Regions from separate parts of the Homo sapiens genome. Here regions 1, 2, 3, 4, 5 and 6 are each linked to region 7. The links are contacts of gene promoters, found by promoter capture Hi-C in blood cells and fetal thymus (Javierre and others, 2016). All regions are on one chromosome and are shown on one strand. Each heading gives the region's core, a stretch centred on a gene start or on the middle of the fragment in contact. The rest is flanking DNA. Distances are from core to core; before and after follow the strand shown. Region 1 overlaps HERC1 (HECT and RLD domain containing E3 ubiquitin protein ligase family member 1). Region 2 overlaps USP3 (ubiquitin specific peptidase 3). Region 3 overlaps HERC1 (HECT and RLD domain containing E3 ubiquitin protein ligase family member 1). Region 4 overlaps HERC1 (HECT and RLD domain containing E3 ubiquitin protein ligase family member 1). Region 5 overlaps HERC1 (HECT and RLD domain containing E3 ubiquitin protein ligase family member 1). Region 6 holds the start of USP3-AS1 (USP3 antisense RNA 1). Region 7 holds the start of DAPK2 (death associated protein kinase 2).

Region 1 (2,879 bases), core at 235-2,734, 410 kb after region 7:
TTCTTAGTTTCCCTTCTTAAAAATTTTCTTTCTCCTTGGTTCTGTCTTAGATGTCTTGTGGCTTCAAGCACTCAGCAGTGGTCACTTCAGATGGCAAACTGTTCACCTTTGGGAATGGTGACTATGGTCGTCTGGGTCTTGGAAATACCTCTAACAAAAAACTTCCAGAGAGAGTGACTGCACTGGAGGGATATCAGATTGGACAGGCATGGAATAAATCAATAAGATATTCTAGCTGATCATTGTTTCTCATTTCTTCTGTGTTCGCTTAGACACCCTCAGGAAGATCAGGATCACCAGTTGTACCTAACCTCATGTACATTTTGCTATGGTCTAATTGATAATTTTAACTGTTTCCCAATGTGAAATTCATATTTTAAGTCAATTTAAGTTTGTTTATGTGACAAACCAACAAATGTAACCCTTATTTCAGGACGTGAATATTTTTAAAGCCCCCTCCATAACATACTAATACCACTTGCTATTAAACCCTTAAAAAATACAGATACTAGTAGCTCCTGTCTGGTATCCTTGAGTTGTATGGCTGAATTGCAACATCACTGGTAGCTACTGCTCCTAAGTAGTAATTATCTCTGTCTTGTATACATCAAGAGTGTCCTTTAACAAGGAAATATTTTTGGCTTTTTCTATATCATTCCTTAGATACTTTTTGATATGAATGAATATTTTTGGGTCATGTATACTTTTCCTCTATCTTTCATACTGATTATGGTTTAGCCACAGACATTTGAAGGATTTCACTTTGAAGAAAAAAGTTATATATGGACATTAAGAATTATTTCTTGTTGACTTACTTTGGTTAACATTTGTAGTATGCTCTGAAACCATTGTAGATATTTGGAAACATAGCCAAGTTTTTCACTGAAGTAGAGAAAAAGGGTCCCAGAAACGGGGGAGTGTGTTTTAGGTCTTGTGATTTGCCTTACGGAATGCTGTTATTTCTTTAGGTGGCCTGTGGATTAAACCACACTTTGGCAGTGTCAGCAGATGGTTCCATGGTGTGGGCTTTTGGAGATGGAGACTATGGAAAACTAGGCTTAGGAAATTCCACTGCAAAATCTTCACCTCAGGTCAGTACTGCCTTGAGTCTAGGTTTTCAGACAACATAAATAGTTTTCATCTATGTCAGTAGTTATTATTAGTTGGAAATAATTTACCTTTAGTACTTTTGGTAGTTCATAATGAAGTTTAGAAGCTTCTGTTGTGCATTCTTGAATGCCCACATGCTAGGTCTTGATTTTAAATAAGCTATTAATCCAGCTAAACTGGATTTAAAATTCTGCAAGGATAAGCTTCTGTCTCCAAAAATGGGTTTCACACTGTAGGACCTCTGATGTAGGGAAGAAATAGTTAGAAACATATCTCCAGGATGTCATGGAAGGAACTATGAGTAATCCTTTGTAACCCTCTGCATGCAGCTGCCATTTCTGCTTATTATTACCACTGAATTAACACAGGTACACGTCTCCTTTTAAGAAAACAATACAAAGGAAATCTGAGTCCATGAAGAAAGAAATTAGAAGCTGTTATTCATACTATAGAAGATTTCTTGACTCTACAGAAGTCCTTCTATGTGATTGTTTTATGTGGGTTTTCCTGACGTATTTCACAAGCAGTGTGATTTACAAAGCTTCAGCTTATATTCAGATTCACCACCATTTATAGTCTGTGACATCCTGATAGCTAGACTAGTGAATATTAAGCTACGTATGCAGAGAGGCAGGAAAACTGACTCTGGGGAACATATAAAGCAGTTATTGTCGCCCATAAAAGCTAAAATGTTAAACTAACATGGTCTTCTAGTGTTCTTTAAAAGGTCCTGGAATTCTCCCTGGTCTCTATTACCCAGAGGAATGCTTCTGCTTCACACAGGGCCCTGGGGACTTTAGTCAAACTGCCTCTGCCCCTGCACACTCCCTCCCTGAAATTCAGTTAGTTTGCAGAACAGTAGGAGAAAATAACATTTCAGGTTTGGATTTGGGTCGAACAGGTAAGTGACAATTAGTATTTTTGTTGGAAGGTAGTTCTTGATACATGCCATTAGGCAAATTCAAGAGTGATTTTTTTTCTTCTTAAAGTTGTGTGCCTTACACTTTTATTTTGTAGAAAATTGACGTCCTTTGTGGAATTGGAATAAAAAAGGTTGCTTGTGGAACTCAGTTTTCTGTTGCTTTGACCAAAGATGGTCATGTGTATACCTTTGGTCAAGGTAAGACATTTTTCAGCTTATTTGCTTGGGTACACATCATTATAAACATTGGCCTTCCAGTGTTACAGAATGTGCTCTAAATTGAGTCCTTTTTTTGTTCTAGGTGGTGAGTAGTCACTATGACCTCCTTTCAGTATAGATAATTTTCCACTTCTCTTTCATGTGCTTTATTATAAAGACAAACTCCCCTCCCCATTAAGACCCCTTATGCCAGAGCCAGCACTCTTGCTAGAAGAGTCCCTGCCAAGGGCCGTCCCCTCTTCTTTTCTACTGCCCTTGACATGCTGCCACAAATACTGCCTTGACCATCAGAGCTCCTCTGTGTCCTGCCTCATTCTTCATCCCTTCTAGGGACTGGGGCTGCAGATCTTAGGAACTGGAGGAATTCATAGGCACTCTGGGTTCAAATCTTGAGTAGGTTCGTAACCCAGGCATTCACAGTAGGACTGAGATTCTTGGCAAGGGTAGTTGTTTAGGGATATGTGAGACAGGTGTGAGGAAGAGGAAGTAAACCATGACTGAAGTTTCTAGTTGTGGGAGAACATCGATGCCTCTGACTGAGGACATGAGCTGGTTTGTGGGGAAGGGTAAGGAATTTAGTTTTAGTTATGTTGAATGGACCCATTTGCCCTAAATAAATGTGTGGAAA
Region 2 (3,011 bases), core at 328-2,827, 460 kb after region 7:
AAAAAAAAAAAAAAAACAAAACCGTTGTACCTTGCTGGTGGGAATGTAAAATGGTACAGCCACTGTGGAAAAGTTTGGCAGTACTTCCGAAAGTTAAACAGAATTATGATTCAGCGATTCCACTCTTAGGTATATACCCAAAAGAACTGGAAGCAGGAACTCAGATACTTCTACACCAGTGTTCATAGCAGCATTATTTATAATAGCCAAAAGGTGGGAAAAACCCAAGTGTCGTCAACAGATGAATGGATAAACAGAATGTAGTCTATACATACCAGAGAATATTAAGCCTCAAAAAGGAAGTAAATTCTGAGACATGCTTACAACATGGATGACCCCTGAATATACACTAAGTTAAGCCAATCACAAAAGGATAAATATAGTATGATTCCACTTATATGAGGTGCCTAGAATAGACAAATTCATAGAGGATACAATAAGAGTTACTGGGAACAAGAGAGGAAAAGTAATGAGTTACTGTTTAATGGGTACAGAGTTTCTGTTTAGGATGACAAAAATTTTTACAAGTAGTAATGGTTGTATAATATTTTGGGTGTGCTTAATGCCACTGAATTACACACTTAAGACACTTAAAATGTTACATTTTATTCTATGTATATTTTACCACAATTTTTTAAAAAATTGTTTTAAGAGACAAGGTCTTCTTCCTCTGTCATGCAGGCTGGAGTATAAAATAGCTCACTGAAGCCTCAAACTCCTGGGCTCAAGCAATCCTCCCCAGTAGCTGAGATTACAGGCATGAGCCACACTGTGCCTAGCTCATTTTTTTTAATTGACAATGTCTGCTTGAAACTTTCACAGGCAAATAAGAAGGCAGGGAGAGTATGACTCTGAAATACTGTCACTCCAGCCTCTCCATCCCATTAGCCAGATGGTTTATGATTCACCAGCAAGACATTGTTGCCTGTGCTACCTAGCCACACAACACTGAGAAGCAGAAATGCCTCAACAGCAGAGAAGCCTTTTTCCCCCCCCTATATTTAACCTGTACAGACCCACTTTCTGAAGGGGTCTCCCCGTGTGTGGAAGCATGGGGTCATTCAGAGGGCTACTACTGAGTTGGCAGGTGGTATTCTAAATCTCCTTTAGTAACTGTTTAGAAGCTTTAATTTCAGGAATTTGATACCCTGAGGAGCACTGAGATTACTGAAAGAATCTATCAACATTTCACAGTAACTCATCTGCATTTATGTGAAATGCACATAAATACTAGACTGCTCTCTTGTTCCTTCTACCTGCCAGGCAAAGCCCCTGCCATCACCCTGCTCCTTTTCTGAAACCAAAGCACCTCTCGCAGCCTTCCTTCCTGTCCTCATCTTCTCTCCAATGCAAAGGAGGCTCTTTATGCCTTCTCCCAGCATCTTCCAGCATCTTCTTGCTTTCCAACATTTTCTTCCTCCCTGCCTTTTTGAGTTGCTTAAACTTACAAGGTGACCATGTAGTGGTCTCCCTGCTGATTTATGCACAAGATAATGGAAAGTTAGTCCTTTTCTTCTAAGACCACATGAGATACCAAAAAGGAATAGACATGATCAGGTCAGGCCCATAAGATGATTCATAAAGAGGCAATATAAGCTGAGCCTGGTTTTTCAAACCCTCAGTTTAAAAAATGGTGGCCCTAACTGCCTTGAGAACCCCTCTCTGTTCTCCCTTTTGGTACTGCCTGCCAAGAGGTGGGGACATCCTCAGGATCACAGCCAAAGCAGAAGGTAAGGAGACTGGTGTGCCCAGTAGGGCCTCCTGGGGAGTTCCCCTAAGAAAGTGCTATTATAGTAAACCCTAGTTGGATTAGTAGAGAACAATCTCCACTACCACTGTCATCTCTTCATGGGTTTTAAAAAGTTACCTGAGCATCCCCAGAAACCTAATGCCTATTTGTAATCCTTAGCCTCCCAGAGTGCTGGGATCACAGACATGAGCCACCATACCCGGCCCTAAAAATCAACTTTTAAATCACAGTTTCTAAACATAAAATTTCTGAACTACAGTATGTCTGAATGATAAGCTTATAAGGGATGTATATGTTCCTCTTTTTACTTTTTTGAGTTTTCTCCAAATTCTTCAATAAACATATGTATAAAGAAAACCATTATTAAAACATACAGGCCAGGCATAGTGGCTCACGCCTGTAATCCCAGCACTTTGGGAGGCTGAGGTGGAGGATCATTTGAGCCTAGGAATTCAAGACCAGCCTGGGCAAAAGGGTGAAACCCTGTGTCTACAAAAAATACAAAAAACACAAGCATTGCAGCATGTGCCTGTAGTCCCAGGAGACTGAGGTGGGAGGATCACCTCAGACTAAGAGGTTGAAGCTGCAGTGAGCCATGATCCCACCACTGCACTCTAGCCTGGGCAACAGAGTGAGACCCTGTCTTTTAAAAAACAAACATATGGGCCGGGCACAGTGGCTCACACCTGTAATCCCAGCACTTTGGGAGGCCGAGGCAGGTGGATCATGAGGTCAGGAGTTTGAGACCAGACCAATATGGTGAAACCCTGTCTATACCAAAAATCCAAAAAAAAAAAAAAAAAAAAAATTAGCCGGGTGTGGTGGCTGCACACCTGTAGTCCCAGCTACTCAGGAGGCTTAGGCAGAAGAATCGCTTGAACCCGGAGGCAGAGGTTGCAGTGAGCCAAGATTGCACCGCTGCACTCTAGCCTGGGCAACAGAGCAAGACTCCATCTAAACACACACACACACACACACACACACACACACACACACACACACACACACACACAAAAACCAACACAAACATACATATAAACACATGGAAATATATTTCTTTAAGGGGAAGACTATCTAGATACAACATACCCTTAACATTCACAGATTTGGCAACTGCTATTTTAACTATTTGAAAAGCCTGAATGACCCTGAAATGTACCTCAGTTTAATATTTTGCAGCAGCATGAGTGTGAATTTCACCTCAGAGCTCACATGTGGAAGTGAATTATATGGCCTGTAAAGAGTCTATTAGCAGCCAGGC
Region 3 (2,754 bases), core at 63-2,562, 360 kb after region 7:
GTAAAATGCACGTAACGTGAAATTTGCCATTTTAATCATTTAAATATACAATTTAGTGACATTAAGCTTATTCACAGTATTATACAACAATCACTGCCATCCATTTCCAGAACTTTTTTTCATAATCTCTAATCTAAGTATGCCAAAACATAATGTAATCCTCTACGGCACATGGTATTTTATATGTTTACACGCTCAATATACTTTTTTTCTTAATTAGTATAACTTACAACTGCTCCTTTTTTTTTCCTTTAATAAGGTAAGGCTTATATTAAGTTTCAAGAGGATAAAGAAAAATCAGATATTCATTTATTTTCAACTGATCTTATTACAGTTATATGTATTTTTTAATTACATATTTATGTATCAGTATCCTATTTTCTACCTTGGATTACTTCATTTATTTATTTATTTTTTATTATTTTGAGACAGAGGCTCTCTGTGTCGCCCAGGCTGGAGTGCAGTGGTGTGATCTCAACTCACTGCAACCTCTCACTTCCAGGCTCAAGTGATCCTCCCGTCTCAGCCTCCCAAGTAGCTGGGATCACAGGCGTGCACCACCACTCCCAGCTAATTTTTGTATTTTTAGTAAAGGCAGGGTTTCACCATGTTGGCCAGGCTGGTCTTGAACTCCTGGCCTTAAGTGATCTGCCCGCCTCAGCCTCCCAAAGTGCTGGGATTACAGGCATGGGTCACCATGCCCGGCTGTTGGCTTACTTTAGAAAAGTATAGTCTGTTTACTCCCGGTTAACCCTAACAATCCCTGTGAGACAGTCAGTGCATGGACGGAGAGAGGCAATGAGAGGGAATAATAAGCATGAGCTTTGGAGATTAACAGACCTGTTTAAAACTCTACCTCTATGAGCTTGTGTGGCTTTGGTCAAGTTACATAACTTCTCTGAGCCTCATTTTTCTCAACAGTAAAATGGGGCTGTAATTCAGTTTGTGAGGATTAATAGAATGTATGTGTGTGAAATGTGTAGCATAGCATAGTATCTGGCACAGATACTTTTTTACAATGCTCTTCCCATTATGTATACATAAAAACTGAGGCATAAGCATGAATGTATTCATACGCATTCATGGGTACAGGATGGATCCAGAATTCTTGCGATAATAGTTTGAAATCAAGTTTGTTCCACCCATAAATGTTTAGCAGCCTCAGGAATTTTTTTCCCAGAAGTTCATTTTAACTTTGAATTTAAGTCACATTGATAATAAGAAAAGGTCTTTTCCCCTCCAGGTATCCCTCTGGTTGGTAACTTAAGAACAAGGCTCCTTGCACTTCATGTCCTTGAAGCTGTGCTGCCAGCTTGTGAATCTGGTGTAGAAGATGATCAAATGGCCCAGGTTTTTATTTTTAAAATTATTAGAAGATGTTTTCCATATTTGCAAAATGATTCACCCAAATCTGTACTTAACAGTCTCTTCAGTTGTAAATGTGTCTTTTATTCAATAGCATAACGTTTACTTTTAGGACTGCTTTCTTTATTATTTCACCCCCAAGGAGAGGGCAAAAAAAATTAAGTTATGGGGTGTGAGAAGTAGAGGGATAGAGAATACTCTGCAAGGTCAGAAGGAAAGAAAAATCTGGAATTTCTTACTAGGTTTGGACCGCTATAGGAAGAAACATGTGGGAGTGTCCTAATCAGAGGTCTAAATAGTAAGGCAAAATGGGACCCACTTTCTAATAGGTTAATATTTCTTTTTTTTTTTTTTTTTTTGAGATGGAGTCTCGCTCTGTCGCCCAGCCTGGAGTGAGTGCAGTGGCGCGATCTCAGCTCACTGCAGCCTCCGCCTCCTGGGTTCAAGTGATTCTCCTGCCTTAGCCTCCAAGTAGCTGGGACTATAGGCACATGCTACCATGCCTGGCTAATTTTTGTATTTTTAGTAGAGATGGGGTTTCACCATGTTGGCCAGGCTGGTCTCAAACTCCCAACCTCAGGCAATCCACCCGCCTCAGCCTCCCAAAGTGCTGGGATTACAGGCATGAGCCACCGTGCCTGGCTTCTAATGGGTTAATATTTCTAAAAACTGATATTTAACTTATAACCACTAAAAGTAGCTGTTGAACACTGGTATAATCAAACTTCGCATGCGAGTTAATATTACAGTTAACATGATACAGCTTTTCTAAAAATACTTAAAGTTACTTTTTACAAATTTTATCCTTTTTTCTTCAATAAAACAGATTGTTGAGCGCTTATTTTCCCTTCTCTCTGATTGTATGTGGGAGACACCCATTGCTCAGGCCAAACATGCTATTCAGATAAAGGAAAAAGAACAAGAAATAAAACTACAGGTAATTGGTTTTTCCTAAAAGGTATTTCTTAACAGCATAAGTGAATATTCTGTCACTTGTCTCTGAATGCCTGTTCCTCTGAGGCACCTTGCTCTATCATTTATTCCATTTCCTCTCTTGGCATTCTGTCTCCCTTTCCACTGATTCCCTCCCCTCAGCTTATAACCATGCTTAACTCATTTCCTCTCTCCTAAATCACATTTTTATCTGTGAAGTCTTCTCTGTCTTCTCTCTTGTCCTGTAGTACTAAGCTTCTTAGAAGAGTAATCTGCATGTTTCAGCCACTTTCTTCTCATTATCTCTTCAACCCCACCATTTATCTTGTATCAAAGTACGAAATTAAATGACAAAGATAAGTGTTTGTTGCTAAATATAGTGTATCCTTTTTTTTCCACTTCTTACTTTACCTCTGGAAACTCTAGCCTTTTGTTATTTTCAAAACGCTTTCTCCC
Region 4 (3,077 bases), core at 219-2,718, 340 kb after region 7:
CTCTTGCCTTGTGCCCACCTTCCACATTTCACAAGACTAACATATCTAAAGTACAAATCTGTTTATACCTCCTCTACTCAAAATCTTTTAACAGCTCTGTTAACTATCAAAAAAGCCTCAGAACCTGGACTGCAGGCATTTAGGGTAAAGATAAATAAGATGCTAATTTATATAAAAAGGAGGTGAGGTAAAGGTATGCTACAGTGTCACTGGTAAAATATAAAGCGAAAACTATCTAGAAGATTGCTTCTACTTGAGGAACTTTGGACTTGGAGTTAATTGGTAGCTAGGTTTTCAATTTGGCTGTTCCTCTGCCTTGTGTGTGATTCTATATGTGCTATGACCTCCCTGGGCTTTAGTGTCTTACTGTGTGATACGAAGATGGTAGTGCCTGTTGTGTATATGGTGATGTGTCAGACTTGGCTTCTGGTCTCGATTCTACTGTTAAAGAGCGGTGGGATCTTGGTCATATCATGTGACAGCTCATAGAGAAATGCTAGCGTTTGAGATGGACTTATCTATAAGCTCCATGTGTAATTCTGAAATTCCTCTGTTGTATGAACTGAGAGAAGGGATAGGAAAATATTTTTGAAAAAGTATAAAGTGCTACATAAAGAATAAGTTATTGTTTTAAAAAAGCTTCCATAAAGGATTCCTCATCTAAGGAAAGTTGAACAGTGTCTTTACGTTTCATTGTATCATGACATTTTGTTTATACTTCCTCCTTTTCTCCTTCATCTGCATTAATATCTCTGTGCTTCCACTTCATACTCCCAGTCTTATAGTCTAGTGAGATTCCTGTGCTCATTTATTTCTCTGTCAGTTAATTTTTTAAATCTGATCAATCTGACTCATTATCTAGTCTCCTAACTCTGTGATAATTTCCCTTTTTTTTGAGACAGGATATTACCCTGTCACTCAGGCTGGAGTTCAGGCTGCTCAGTGCAGCCTCGAACTCCTGAGCTCAAGCAATCCTCCTGCCTCAGCCTCCCGAGTAGCTGAGATTACAGGCATGTGCCACCATTTCTGGCTAATTTTTTAAATTTTTATGTCTTGCTCTGTTGCCCAGGCTGATCTTAAACTCCTGGCCTCAAGTGATCCTCCTGCTTCAGCCTCCCAAAGTGTTGGGATTACAGGTGTGAGCCACTGCACCCAGCTCCCAACCCTGCAATAATTTTGAAACATAGATCATGTCGTTTCTCTGCTCAGAGTCCTGCAATGACTTCCCTTTTCTCAGACTAGAAGTCTAAGTCCTTACAGGGGTCTATAGGCTCTTCATGGTCTGGTCCCACTACCTCTCTGATCTCTTCTGTTACTCTCCTCAGTGATTCTCCTTCTGTCACACTGGACTCTTAGCTGTTGCGTGAATCTGCAACACAAGTTCCCTTTAGGGCCTTAACTGGCTGTTTCTTAGGACTGGAATGCTATTGCCTGCATGGCTAACTCCCTCTCTTTCTTCAAGTCTTCATTCTGATGTTACTTTTTCCATGAAGCCTGTGCTGACCACCCTATTTAAAATGTCAATTTTCCTTCTTTTCCAAATAGTCACTTCCTGTCCCCCTTGCCTTGCTTTGTTTTTTCTGGGGCACCGATCACTTACTGTATAATTTAGTTATTCATTGATCAGTTAGTCTTAGTCTACATTAGAATATAAGCTCTTTAAGGACAGGAATTTTTTGCTGTTTTATTCACTTCTGTATCCCAAGCACCTATAATAGCACGTGGTAGGTAGTCAGGAAATTATTTTTAAATTTATAAATAACTGTCTAATCTATTTTGGCAAAATTTCCACATGCATTTGGTTTTTTCCTTTCTTTAATTGAAGTGCCCTATTACCTGTTTCTGGAGTAGGTATTTTCAAACTGGTCCCCCTACTTTTTCCAGTTTTGCTCCTTAGACACTTCTTTCCAAATTAGAACTCTTGGAAACACACATAACAACAACAAAACACCTACCTGCTGATTGTGCTACTTTCCTACTCAAACATCTTGTCTTACTGCAGAGAGATGGCTAGTCCACGCAAGTCCAAATTACAGACTGATCAAATCTAGGAGTGACTGCACTGCCTACTCGGAAATCAAAGATTCTGGGAAGTGTCACCTGCCTGCTTTTGGAACCAGTATTCTTCTGCAGTGGTCTGCATTTTTGCCATAGTAGTTCATCTGCCAGACCCCAAGCATACCTCTTGAGCCTTTGCTAAAGCACTATTTGCCTTAAAAGTTCTCCTAGGCTTCCTTGCTGATATCCTGTCTTTCCCTGAAGGACTGTCTAAAATGTTACCTCTTCCAGAAAGCTTTCCCAGCTACCTTACTCTCCCAGTTGTCCCATGACAGTTTGTTAGGATGTCTGATAATTTACCGTTTGTCTTATGTTGGACTTATTTATGTATTATTAGTATGTCTTCCCAGTAAACCCACTAGAAATCTAGGATTTTTTGGTTTTTATTTTTCCTAAATGCCCCTGATATCTCCTACACAGTGCTTTACATATTGTAAATGATTAATAACTCCTTTCAACTGAAATGAAAATATAGAAAGGAGGATGGGTAAAATTAAAGTGGTGTACTTTTGGGAAATCAGCTATGAAATCTGACTCAGAATAGGGTTAAAACTCACCATGGACTTTGACCTGTACAAGACATTTAACCTTCCTGAGCTCCAGTTTCTTTATCTTTGAAGTGGAGAATAATGCCTGTTGTACTTGCCTCAACTGTGTTGTGAAGAATAAATTTGGTAATACAATTTAAAATATCTGGAAAATTATAAATGGGGACAACAGATCAATGGAGGAGGATTGAGCTTAGATTTAATTGTTAAGATTGTTAGGTTTTCTGGTTGTTCACTTAGTTTTTAGAAAATTTTTAAAAAGACTAAAAAAAAACCCATTTTTAAAAAAGATTGGGCCAGGCGCAGTGGCTCATGCCTGTAACCCCAGCACTTTGGGAGGCTGAGGTGGGAGGATTGCTTGAGCCCAGGAGTTCGAGCCAGCAGTTCAAGACCAGCCTGGGAACATGCCAAACCTTGTCTTTACAAAAAAATAAAAAATATATATATATATTAGCTGGGTGTTGTGGTGTG
Region 5 (2,913 bases), core at 220-2,719, 380 kb after region 7:
TGTCTAATGTTCTGTTAATGTCCAGTGTATTTTTCTATTCAGACACTATAGTTTTCATCAGTAGACATTTGATTTGTTTTTTTTTAATCTCATCTTCCGTGTTTATTTCACATGCTCAATCTTTCCTCTAACTTACTGAATACATGGAATAATAGTTGATTCTCATTATTAGCAATAGTTATGTTCTAAAAGGTTATTATGAACACTGAATTAGCAAATACTGAACCATTGCTCCTAGGAGAAATACAGGGTTAAGTTCCTGTGAACTTCTAGTTACATTTCCATCATCTGATCAGTATGCTGTATAATCTTGTTTTGTGCATCTTTCTGTTTAAAGATACCACATTTAATACATACTGTTTATTCACTAACATTGAGCTTATGGCCACCAACACTATAGCTCATCATGAATGAAGCTTATCTAACATATGTATTTTCTTCATAAGGCACATTACAGCATCCTTGTGCTTAGAAACACTAGACAGCACTTTAGCACTATGCTTGGGGCCATTTTAATCAGGGAAATCACCGACCAAAAGCATAAAAATGCGAAGAATGTAGCACTAAATAGACTATGAAAAGGACACTTGTTTTTCACATGAGAGCTGAAACATGAAGGCAGAGCATCACCTTGTTGGACCTCAGCTGTGAACACATATGTTGAGGGACTAAACTTTTTAGTCCCTCTGCATATGTCACAAATGACTACAAAAGTACATGAGTATTGATTTTGAGATTACAAATAAATTTTATTGAGTATACAGATTTACAAATATGGAACTTGGATGAGGAGTGGGTTATTTACATACTCTTATAGTACCTCTACACAAATCTTTACAAAGTATAACATAAATGGATGTTAGTAAAACTGGGATTACAGGTGTGAGCCACAGTGCCCAGCCACATATTCTGAGTAGAGGAAAATTTCATTAAACTTGGACAATACTAGGAAATTGAGGACTATGAAGACACTTTTTACTCACGGTATCTAGTGATATTTAGGTTCTTATTTCTCTTCCTTTTGTCTCAGCCTTGTCAGACCCAAGCAGTAGACTTTCAACTTCTCCTCCTCCTCCAGCAATTGCAGTTCCCTTGCTGGAAATGGGGTTCTCTCTTCGGCAGATTGCCAAAGCCATGGAAGCTACAGGTAGGATAAGTTTTTATATATCAGTGTATACAGATATGAGAAGTCCTAGCTTATTAAAGACAACATAACTTTTAAGAGGCTATGAAACTTGGTAAGATTTTTAACACTATATTTTGTTACAAGAGCATCATAGCAAACACTCTTATAACATAAAGACCTAATTCTTTGCCCAAAGTCAGCATCAGACTGTTTTTCCCCTGTATAGGTGCTAGGGGAGAGGCTGATGCCCAGAATATCACTGTCCTTGCCATGTGGATGATAGAGCACCCTGGGCATGAGGATGAAGAGGAGCCCCAGTCGGGCAGCACAGCAGACTCTAGGCCTGGAGCAGCCGTTCTAGGCAGTGGCGGGAAGTCAAATGATCCCTGTTATTTGCAGTCACCTGGAGACATACCATCAGCTGATGCTGCTGAAATGGAGGAAGGTTTTAGTGAAAGGTGAAATTCCAGTTTCTGTACTTTTGTTCCATGTGTTATAAATTTCAAAGCCCCATTTATTATATATCCCGTCATAAATGCTTCTAATTGTATGTAAAGTTGATAAATATAGTTATATGAAAAGATGGGCATTTTAGTTACAAGTTTATATTTCTGTGAAGGGTAAAAGTGACATGACAAGTTTTGATTTGAGTAGGTGTTTTCATGCCAGAAGAAATTTCATAATTTTTGTGTAAAATTGTACTGAAAAAGGAAACAAGTTTATTTTGAAGTAAACATGCTAATAAAATAATTTTATCTCGTACAAGTGATATAAAATCGAGTATTCATTTTAATATTGGACATTGATTTAATGTATTTGATAGAATTGAACTTTTTTTTTTCTGAGACGGAGTCTCGCTCTGTCGCCAGGCTGGAGTGCAGTGGCGCGATATCGGCTCACTGCAGCAACCTCCGCCTCCCCGGTTCAAGCAGTTCCCTGCCTCAGCCTCCCAAGTAGCTGGGACTATAGGCATGTGCCACCATGCCCGGCTCATTTTTTGTATTTTTAGTAGAGACAGGGTTTCACCATGTTGGCCAGGACGGTCTCGAACTCCAGACTTCGTGATCCACCCACCTTGGTCTTCCAAAGTGCTGGGATTACAGGCATGAGCCACCGTTCCTGGCCTAGAATTGAACTTTTAAGTCTTCTCTGTGTAATATTTATATTTTCATCTCTTCTATAGTTTTTAATATCTAGTAGAAGATGCCCCTTTAAGTGTAAAAAGATTGCTGTGATAATGCCTATCCTAAAATGAGATGTATAGAATATCTTACAAATTCTCCCTAAAATCTTTTTTCCTTCATCACTTCTTATGACTTTAAATCTTTATTTTTCATTTTAACTATGGAGCCATATAGTAACCAAGGCTTGTGTCCTAGATGGCATGCAAGCTTTTTCCAACAAGCTCAGTGAATATTTTCATAACGTATTTCAAAATACCTGTTTTTCCTAGGCAAGAATTCTCAATCATTTCAAATTTTAAGTATTTAATCTTTTAGGATTTAGTTAAGGTCATATTTGATCTCATTTAAATTTGAGCTTCATTAAACATCATTTTGTTGTTGGAAGAATTCAAAATCAGACAAAGTTATTGCTCAGGTCACAGGAAATGTTATATGCATAATTGAACTGTTCAAGGGATAAAGATGTGTTTCAAATTTTATCATAAACATATTTTATTCTCAATGAGAATAAAGTAGTACTACAAGTAAGCTTACACCTATGCTTTCTTTCCATAATGGTTTCAAAAACTTTGTGTTGCTTTCTCACTTGCACTTGTAGCCCTG
Region 6 (2,868 bases), core at 335-2,834, 450 kb after region 7:
CGCCTCCCGGGTTCACGCCATTCTCCTGCCTCAGCCTCCTGAGTAGCTGGGACTACAGGTGCCCGCCACCACGCCCGGCTAATTTTTTGTATTTTTTTTTAGTACAGACGGGGGTTTCACCTTGTTAGCCAGGATGGTCTCGATCTCCTGACCTCGTGAATCGCCCATCTTGGCCTCCTAAAGTGCTGGGATTACAGGCATTGAGCCACCGCACCTGGCCCTTCTACCCTCTTATATACCAGTTACCTGTTGTCTCTTCCCCCACTAGAAGGTAAGCTTCATGAGAACAGAATTTGTCTTTTTCCTTGCCGTTTCCCTATTTGAGCAATGAATTAAGGAACCTGTGAGTAGGGATCAAGCTCCTCTTTCACACAGAAGAAACACCTGGCCTGGGAGGGGTAAAGGGCTTTGTCGCAGCTGGCGCTGGGTGGAGCCGGAGTGTGAACAGCGCCCATCACAGTGCTCCTCGCCTCTTCCACCCACCCAGAATTCTCCCCAGTGACCCAGGACCAGGCGGCTGCCGGGGGGCCGAGAGCCTTCACTAAATGTGACACATCAGTGACTACAGCCCTGAAATTCAAATTGGAAGCCTAGGCTTGTGCTCATGTCCAGCAAATCCAACAGGTGAAAAATCTAGCTTGTCAGCTTATAATGGTTCCATTATCAAAAGCTTAGCCAGGGCTGCTGGTTTTGTTTTTGTTTAGTTTGAGGCTTTTTTTTTCTTCCAAATCATTTCTTTTTCCCTTATGAGAACAGTAGAAAATATGGGTAACTATGCAGTTTATGTAAGCATTCAACAATTGGGAGCGAATTTTCTACAATCGCGAGTGCGGTCACTGCGGGAACGCATCCGCCCCAGGAAAGGTGGGCGGGCAGACGCGCGTGCGGGCAAAACCGCAAGGAGGAGCGGCTCGGTGGCTCCTTCTGCCCGTGCGCCCCTGCTTCCCCTCCTCCTGCTTCACCGAGATCACCACCGGGGCTCCTGGAGGTGGCGGTCCCCAGGACACTCCGGGAGCCGGCGGGGTCTCGCTGGGTCGCTCCGCCCGGAGGCTCCCCAGACCCCTGCGCGCGGCAGCCCTGGCCCCCGTCACCCCCGAGCGCAAGTCGGCGAACTCCGAGTGGTCAGGTCCTCCCCACCGAGGTGATTTCGGTCCAACGGCGATCGGAGTCCCCGAGGACGGTGCAGGCGCCTCCCGCCTCCGTGGGGAGCGCACAGCAGAAAGCCTGGGGCGGAAGCAAGAGGGGAAAGGCGGTGGTGTTGAGTGAGAACCAGCCGAGTGTTTTCCAAATATCCATTTAATCTTGCGTTTATCCTATGTATAAAATCGTAACGTGAGGTAGGCTTTCTTATCCCCACTGTGCAGACGGGGAAAATGAGGCTCAGAATATGCGGTGGTGGTCTGAAGGTGGAAGAGCTGGGTTCGAAGCCAGGACGGTCTGGGGCTGCGCTCCTTCCCCGGGGGCAGCGGCGGGGCGGCGTCTAGCGCTGCAGCAGCTTGCCGAGGGCCGCGGCGGGCGCGCGCGGGCGCGGGGGCTGGTCGGGCAGCATGGCGGCGCTGTGCTCTGCCCGCAGGGCCAGGCGCGGGCACGCGGCGCGCAGGCGGCGCAGGCCGGCCGCGCTCACGTTGCGGCAGAAGTCCACGTGCAATGTCTGCAGCGCGCGCCCGTCCGCCGCCACGGCAGCCAACGTGCGGTTGGTGACGCGCGCGCAGTTCTCCAGGCGCAGTGCGCGCAGGCGTGGGCAGCAGCGCAGCAGGCGCGCCAGGCAGTCGTCGGTAACGTGGCCGCAGCCCGAGAGCGTGACGGACGCCAGGTTGGGGCACCTGTGAGGAGAGTGCGGTGACCCGGGGCTCACTGGCTTGTTAAAGCTACCCAACCGCCCCATGGGACCGAGTGGACTCATTTACCGAGGAGGACTCGGGCCCTGCGAGGTGAAGACACTTGGCTGCGATGACACTGCAGGGTTCCAAGTCGGCTTTCTGGCCGGCCCATTTTCCCTCCTCTTTCTGCCCCTGCACCCCACCGTACCTTCATCTGCGTGGGTTCTTGGCTCGTAGCCTTGGGAGCCCCTAGTGGGAAGCCCCGACCCCGGCCCAGCAGAGTCCTGGGGCGGCTGTGGACAGAGGGAATGCCGGTTCCAGGAGCCACAACCCTTGACTCTTTGTTTCGCTCTGGATGTGCTGCCTTGCAGGGGAGCGGTGCTTGGCGATTGCTCCAGTCTAGCTTCAAGCTGAGGCCCCTGAATGTCCCGGCGGGACGTGAGTGGGAAGAGGGATTTGTTTCCTTGGAGGTGGCCTAGTGACAGGCCCATCCCAACCCTCAAGGCGGTGGGGGCACGCGTTAGCATTGAGTCCGGGTTCAGCTTAGTAGACTAGAGCTGTTCCTGCATCCCCTGGGCCACCAGCCTGGAAAAGGGTAGGGTTCGGAGGCAGCTAGAGGCAAGCCCTGAGCAGGTACAGTCACGGACACCCACCCAGGTCGCTTGGCCAGAAAGCTTGGGGGACCCTCTGCTGCAGCCTCACCAGCCCCTCCCAGCAAAGAAAAGATCTTGAGCCAAGTTAGACTTGGTTTATCGCCGTGTCAGTCACTCACGGAGCCTTCATTTCCTCTGCGTGGGGGGAATAATGTCTACCACTGGGGTTGTGAGGAGCCTGCAACGGGGCCTTCCACAGGCAGTCCTAACCCGCTTTCCCTGGAAACAAACGGGACCAGCCTGCTTCCAGTCCAGAAGGACCGACTAATGGGCCGGGGCCTTGGCTCCCCGCAGCCAGAGGGAGCTAGAGTCTGGGCTGGGGAAGCGTTTCCCTTTCCCTGCCAGCCTCCCCCGCAGCTCCGTGACTGCCCCTGGCTGTGCCAGCTCGGCTCCTT
Region 7 (2,852 bases), core at 207-2,706:
TACACACTGTGCTGTCTGAACTTCTGTCCCTCAGAATGCATGAACATAGTGAAACTGTTGTCCTGTGCCACCAAGGCTGGTAATGGTTTGTCACCAGTGATAGGTAAATGGAAATGGAGGAAGAGGTGTTTAGGGATAGTTTGGTGGGGGACTTCTCATGTTGGTGAAACTTCACCAGTGGGTGTCATTCCCTTAGGTCCGTTGACATCAGAAACCACCTCTAGTCTTGGATATTACTCTATATATCATGCTGCTCTTAGGAGAGGAGGCTCGCTGGCTGCACTGTTCTGAATTATTGTGAAGTTTATAAACAAGGAACTCTTTGCCGAGGATGTCCTGGACCCGGAGGCACTGCTCAGCTGGGGGGTGGGGTCCATCTGTATTTGTCCCAATGTCCAAAAGGCTGAAGGGTGTGTGTGTGCTCACACTGGTAGAGGTCCTCTAGGTGCATCTTACACACTCCATCTCATCTCAGCCCCACCATAGCTTCATTAGGAGCTACCGGAAGGTGCGTTTCTCCCACTTTACTGATGAAGAAAGAGCCATGCCCAAGAACACACATGCGGAGTGGCAGGGCAGGGCTTTGAACCTGGTGGTAGGACTCTGAATCTAAGGCCCTTTTGAGGAGCCCCATGGGTGACTTAGGGATGGAAATTCCAGGGGTTGGAGGGGTCCTCATTTGCTTCCTCTAAACAGCCTCTTGTTTTGAAATAAGACAAATGAACTTGGCTTAAGTTCTGTTTTCCCTTCCTTCCTCCCTTCACCCCCTCACTCTCATTCCTTTTTTCCTCAGGGATTTTTTGGCAGAGGGCAGAGAGAGGAACCCATTCCCAAGTCCTCTATTAGAGAAGGCGTGATGGTGAGAGGGGGGCTTCACTCAGCAACCGTGCCAGGACAAAGGGCAAACGAGGGCAGGCCGCTCTCAGGCTGGGTCGGGGGCAGTGAGGAGCAGAGCGGCCCTTCTCATCGCAGCCCCCACCTTGCTGTACGCTGTGGGCTTGAGGTTTCCAGGAGAGTCTGCGGTGTAGGGAGCGCTCTGGCTGGGAGGGAGGAGACGGCCTATTCCTCAGTGGGGCTTCCTCGCTCACGGTGTGTATGGTGGGGAGAGGAGCACACAAGTACCATTTTCTGAGGATTGTGCCAGACCATGTCATACGTATAAGCTCATTCAAATCGATTTCCAGATAAGGCCGGGGGAGGGTAGCCGACTTGCCCAAGGCCACGCAGCATGTGCGCGGTAGAGCCGGTAGGGACGCGCAGAGGGTCTTGCTACCGACTCTCCCCGCTCTCCCGGGAGTCTGGGAGCCCTGAGGTGTCCCCTACCCGGCCGGGAAGCTGGGCTCTCGCCCCGGGACTGTCCGGAGGGGGCTCCAGCAGGGGGCGCCCCGAGCCCCGTCCCGGGCAGCCGGGCGCGCCTCCAGCCGGCGCCTGGGACGGGGCTGGCCGCTCCGCCCCCTCGGCTCCTAGGCTGCTCGGCGGGCGGGTGCCGGGCGCTCTGGGAGGAGAGGACTGCAGGGCCGAGCCCAGCGCACCCCGCCGCGTCCCCCGTTCCCGCCGCGCCCGCCGCGCCCGCCGCGCCCGCCGCGCCCGCCGCTCCCGCCGCGCCTGCCGCGGCCGCGACCGCGGCAGCTCAGCCTCCCGCCGTGAGTAGCACCCGTCTGCGGGCTCGATGGGCGGGACGGGGCGCGCGGCCTGACGGCAGCAGCGCCCGGGTCTGGGGCTGGCGGGGCGAAGAGATCCGGGGCACTCGCTCGCAGATCCCGGGCCCGCCGCCCCAATGCCTGACGCCGTGGCCCGGGGCATTGTGGCCGGCACCCGAGCGCGGGAGCTGCCCGCCGCTGCCCTGGGGCGCCCTCCGGAGCCTGGCACTTTGACCTGGGAGACAGGGTAGAGGCGGCGGGCAGAGCCAAGCACCCAGCAGGGAGATGGGAGACAGACGTCCATCGAGTTAGGCCCCCTGGAACGGGCAGAGCACGCCCGGCTCCCGGCCAAGTCTTCTCAGCTTGGGCTGACTCTCTCACCTCTTGCTCCCGCCTGGCACAAGGATGTGATGCGAGGAGGGTGCTCAGATGTCTGAGCTTCCTCTGGGGCTGAATGAAGCTGGGGTCCCCGCCGTCAGGCGCCCCGGCCTGGGGTAGAGCTAGGATGGGCGTGGGGGCGGCCAGCAGGTGTGCTGCAGGTTGGGGTGGAACGGCTTGGAAGGGCGTTGCCAACAGTTGACTAGGACTCTGGGCTAGGCATTTTGGAGGTCCCAAGGCTTGCATAGGTCTGGCTAACCCTCACCGTAACTCTGCACGGTGGAAATTGGTATTCTTACTTTACAAAAGAGAAAACAAGGTCCAGAGAGGTGAGCCTCGTTGAGGCCGTGCAGGTAATGGTAAGGCAGTGGTGCACACTGGAGGAGAGGGCACCATAGCTGGCTGCCTCGGGGGCAAGCGGGCAGGTGCAGGGACAGCGCCTGACATCTTGTATCCTGGAATCCTGTGGAGGGCAGCCACTCTGGTTTCTGACACTGCGACTCCCAACTGCCTCTGTGGAAGATATTCCTGGGAGAGTCCTGTTGACCTAAGAGGCCGTGGTGCCTTGGCCTCTTCACAGCTAACTTCACAGCCCTGTCCTTCCCCAAACCGCTCATCTCCCAAGATGTTTTTTGAGCACCCTCAAGTGGCACCACTGATGATTCAGCACCTTCAGAGGAGACTTGGGCAGAGGGGTCAGGGGTGTGTGGATGTGGCTGGAGGTCTGCTCCTCTGGGGTAAGTTCCTGGCTGGCAGGAATGAGACCCGCACTGACCCTGCCCACCTCCTTGAGGCCTCCCGATTTGTTAGCTGTGGGGTGAACAAGCAGGCTTC

What was found. Contacts are between HindIII fragments. The CHiCAGO score rates a contact against its expected background, and 5 or more counts as called.
Region 1: a fragment that was not itself captured here is called in contact with the fragment with the promoter of DAPK2 in region 7 in 2 of 17 cell types (endothelial precursors and M2 macrophages); the score reaches 7.1 in endothelial precursors.
Region 2: a fragment that was not itself captured here is called in contact with the fragment with the promoter of DAPK2 in region 7 in 1 of 17 cell types (erythroblasts); the score reaches 5.1 in erythroblasts.
Region 3: a contact is called between a fragment that was not itself captured here and the fragment with the promoter of DAPK2 in region 7, in 8 of 17 cell types (erythroblasts, megakaryocytes, endothelial precursors and 5 more). The highest score is 7.6, in erythroblasts.
Region 4: a contact is called between a fragment that was not itself captured here and the fragment with the promoter of DAPK2 in region 7, in 9 of 17 cell types (endothelial precursors, megakaryocytes, M1 macrophages and 6 more). The highest score is 9.8, in endothelial precursors.
Region 5: a contact is called between a fragment that was not itself captured here and the fragment with the promoter of DAPK2 in region 7, in 5 of 17 cell types (endothelial precursors, M1 macrophages, M0 macrophages and 2 more). The highest score is 6.5, in endothelial precursors.
Region 6: a contact is called between a fragment that was not itself captured here and the fragment with the promoter of DAPK2 in region 7, in 2 of 17 cell types (endothelial precursors and erythroblasts). The highest score is 5.6, in endothelial precursors.

What each region holds. Positions count from the first base shown.
Region 1 is chr15:63,632,060-63,634,938 of GRCh38, reverse strand. It overlaps HERC1 (HECT and RLD domain containing E3 ubiquitin protein ligase family member 1), which reads left to right. Exons shown (of 78, transcript NM_003922.4): 66 at 51-206; 67 at 969-1,091; 68 at 2,128-2,230. Among named protein-coding and RNA genes, the nearest start is that of USP3-AS1, 33 kb to the right of the region's middle. The HindIII fragment of the contact is 338 bases long and covers 1,316-1,653 here.
Region 2 is chr15:63,581,098-63,584,108 of GRCh38, reverse strand. The region is part of intron 11 of USP3 (ubiquitin specific peptidase 3); the gene reads right to left. Among named protein-coding and RNA genes, the nearest start is that of FBXL22, 15 kb to the left of the region's middle. The HindIII fragment of the contact is 902 bases long and covers 1,127-2,028 here.
Region 3 is chr15:63,689,137-63,691,890 of GRCh38, reverse strand. HERC1 (HECT and RLD domain containing E3 ubiquitin protein ligase family member 1) reads left to right here. Exons shown (of 78, transcript NM_003922.4): 32 at 1,244-1,350; 33 at 2,192-2,302. Among named protein-coding and RNA genes, the nearest start is that of USP3-AS1, 90 kb to the right of the region's middle. The HindIII fragment of the contact is 2,487 bases long and covers 69-2,555 here.
Region 4 is chr15:63,709,133-63,712,209 of GRCh38, reverse strand. All of the region lies in intron 24 of HERC1 (HECT and RLD domain containing E3 ubiquitin protein ligase family member 1), which reads left to right. Among named protein-coding and RNA genes, the nearest start is that of USP3-AS1, 110 kb to the right of the region's middle. The HindIII fragment of the contact is 1,654 bases long and covers 642-2,295 here.
Region 5 is chr15:63,664,590-63,667,502 of GRCh38, reverse strand. It overlaps HERC1 (HECT and RLD domain containing E3 ubiquitin protein ligase family member 1), which reads left to right. Exons shown (of 78, transcript NM_003922.4): 41 at 1,031-1,147; 42 at 1,353-1,584; 43 at 2,909-2,913. Among named protein-coding and RNA genes, the nearest start is that of USP3-AS1, 65 kb to the right of the region's middle. RefSeq lists a silencer at 1,345-1,515. The HindIII fragment of the contact is 2,101 bases long and covers 419-2,519 here.
Region 6 is chr15:63,599,652-63,602,519 of GRCh38, reverse strand. It overlaps FBXL22 (F-box and leucine rich repeat protein 22), which reads right to left. Exons shown (of 2, transcript NM_001367807.1): 2 at 1,279-1,823. The coding sequence ends at 1,481. It overlaps USP3-AS1 (USP3 antisense RNA 1), which reads left to right and starts at 1,693. Exons shown (of 3, transcript NR_034080.1): 1 at 1,693-1,931. RefSeq lists silencers at 952-1,081, 1,502-1,791 and enhancers at 779-1,596, 1,859-2,576. The HindIII fragment of the contact is 1,824 bases long and covers 673-2,496 here.
Region 7 is chr15:64,045,089-64,047,940 of GRCh38, reverse strand. It overlaps DAPK2 (death associated protein kinase 2), which reads left to right and starts at 1,456. Exons shown (of 12, transcript NM_014326.5): 1 at 1,456-1,643. RefSeq lists silencers at 1,283-1,492, 1,513-1,572, 1,603-1,822. The HindIII fragment of the contact is 10,777 bases long and covers 1-2,852 here.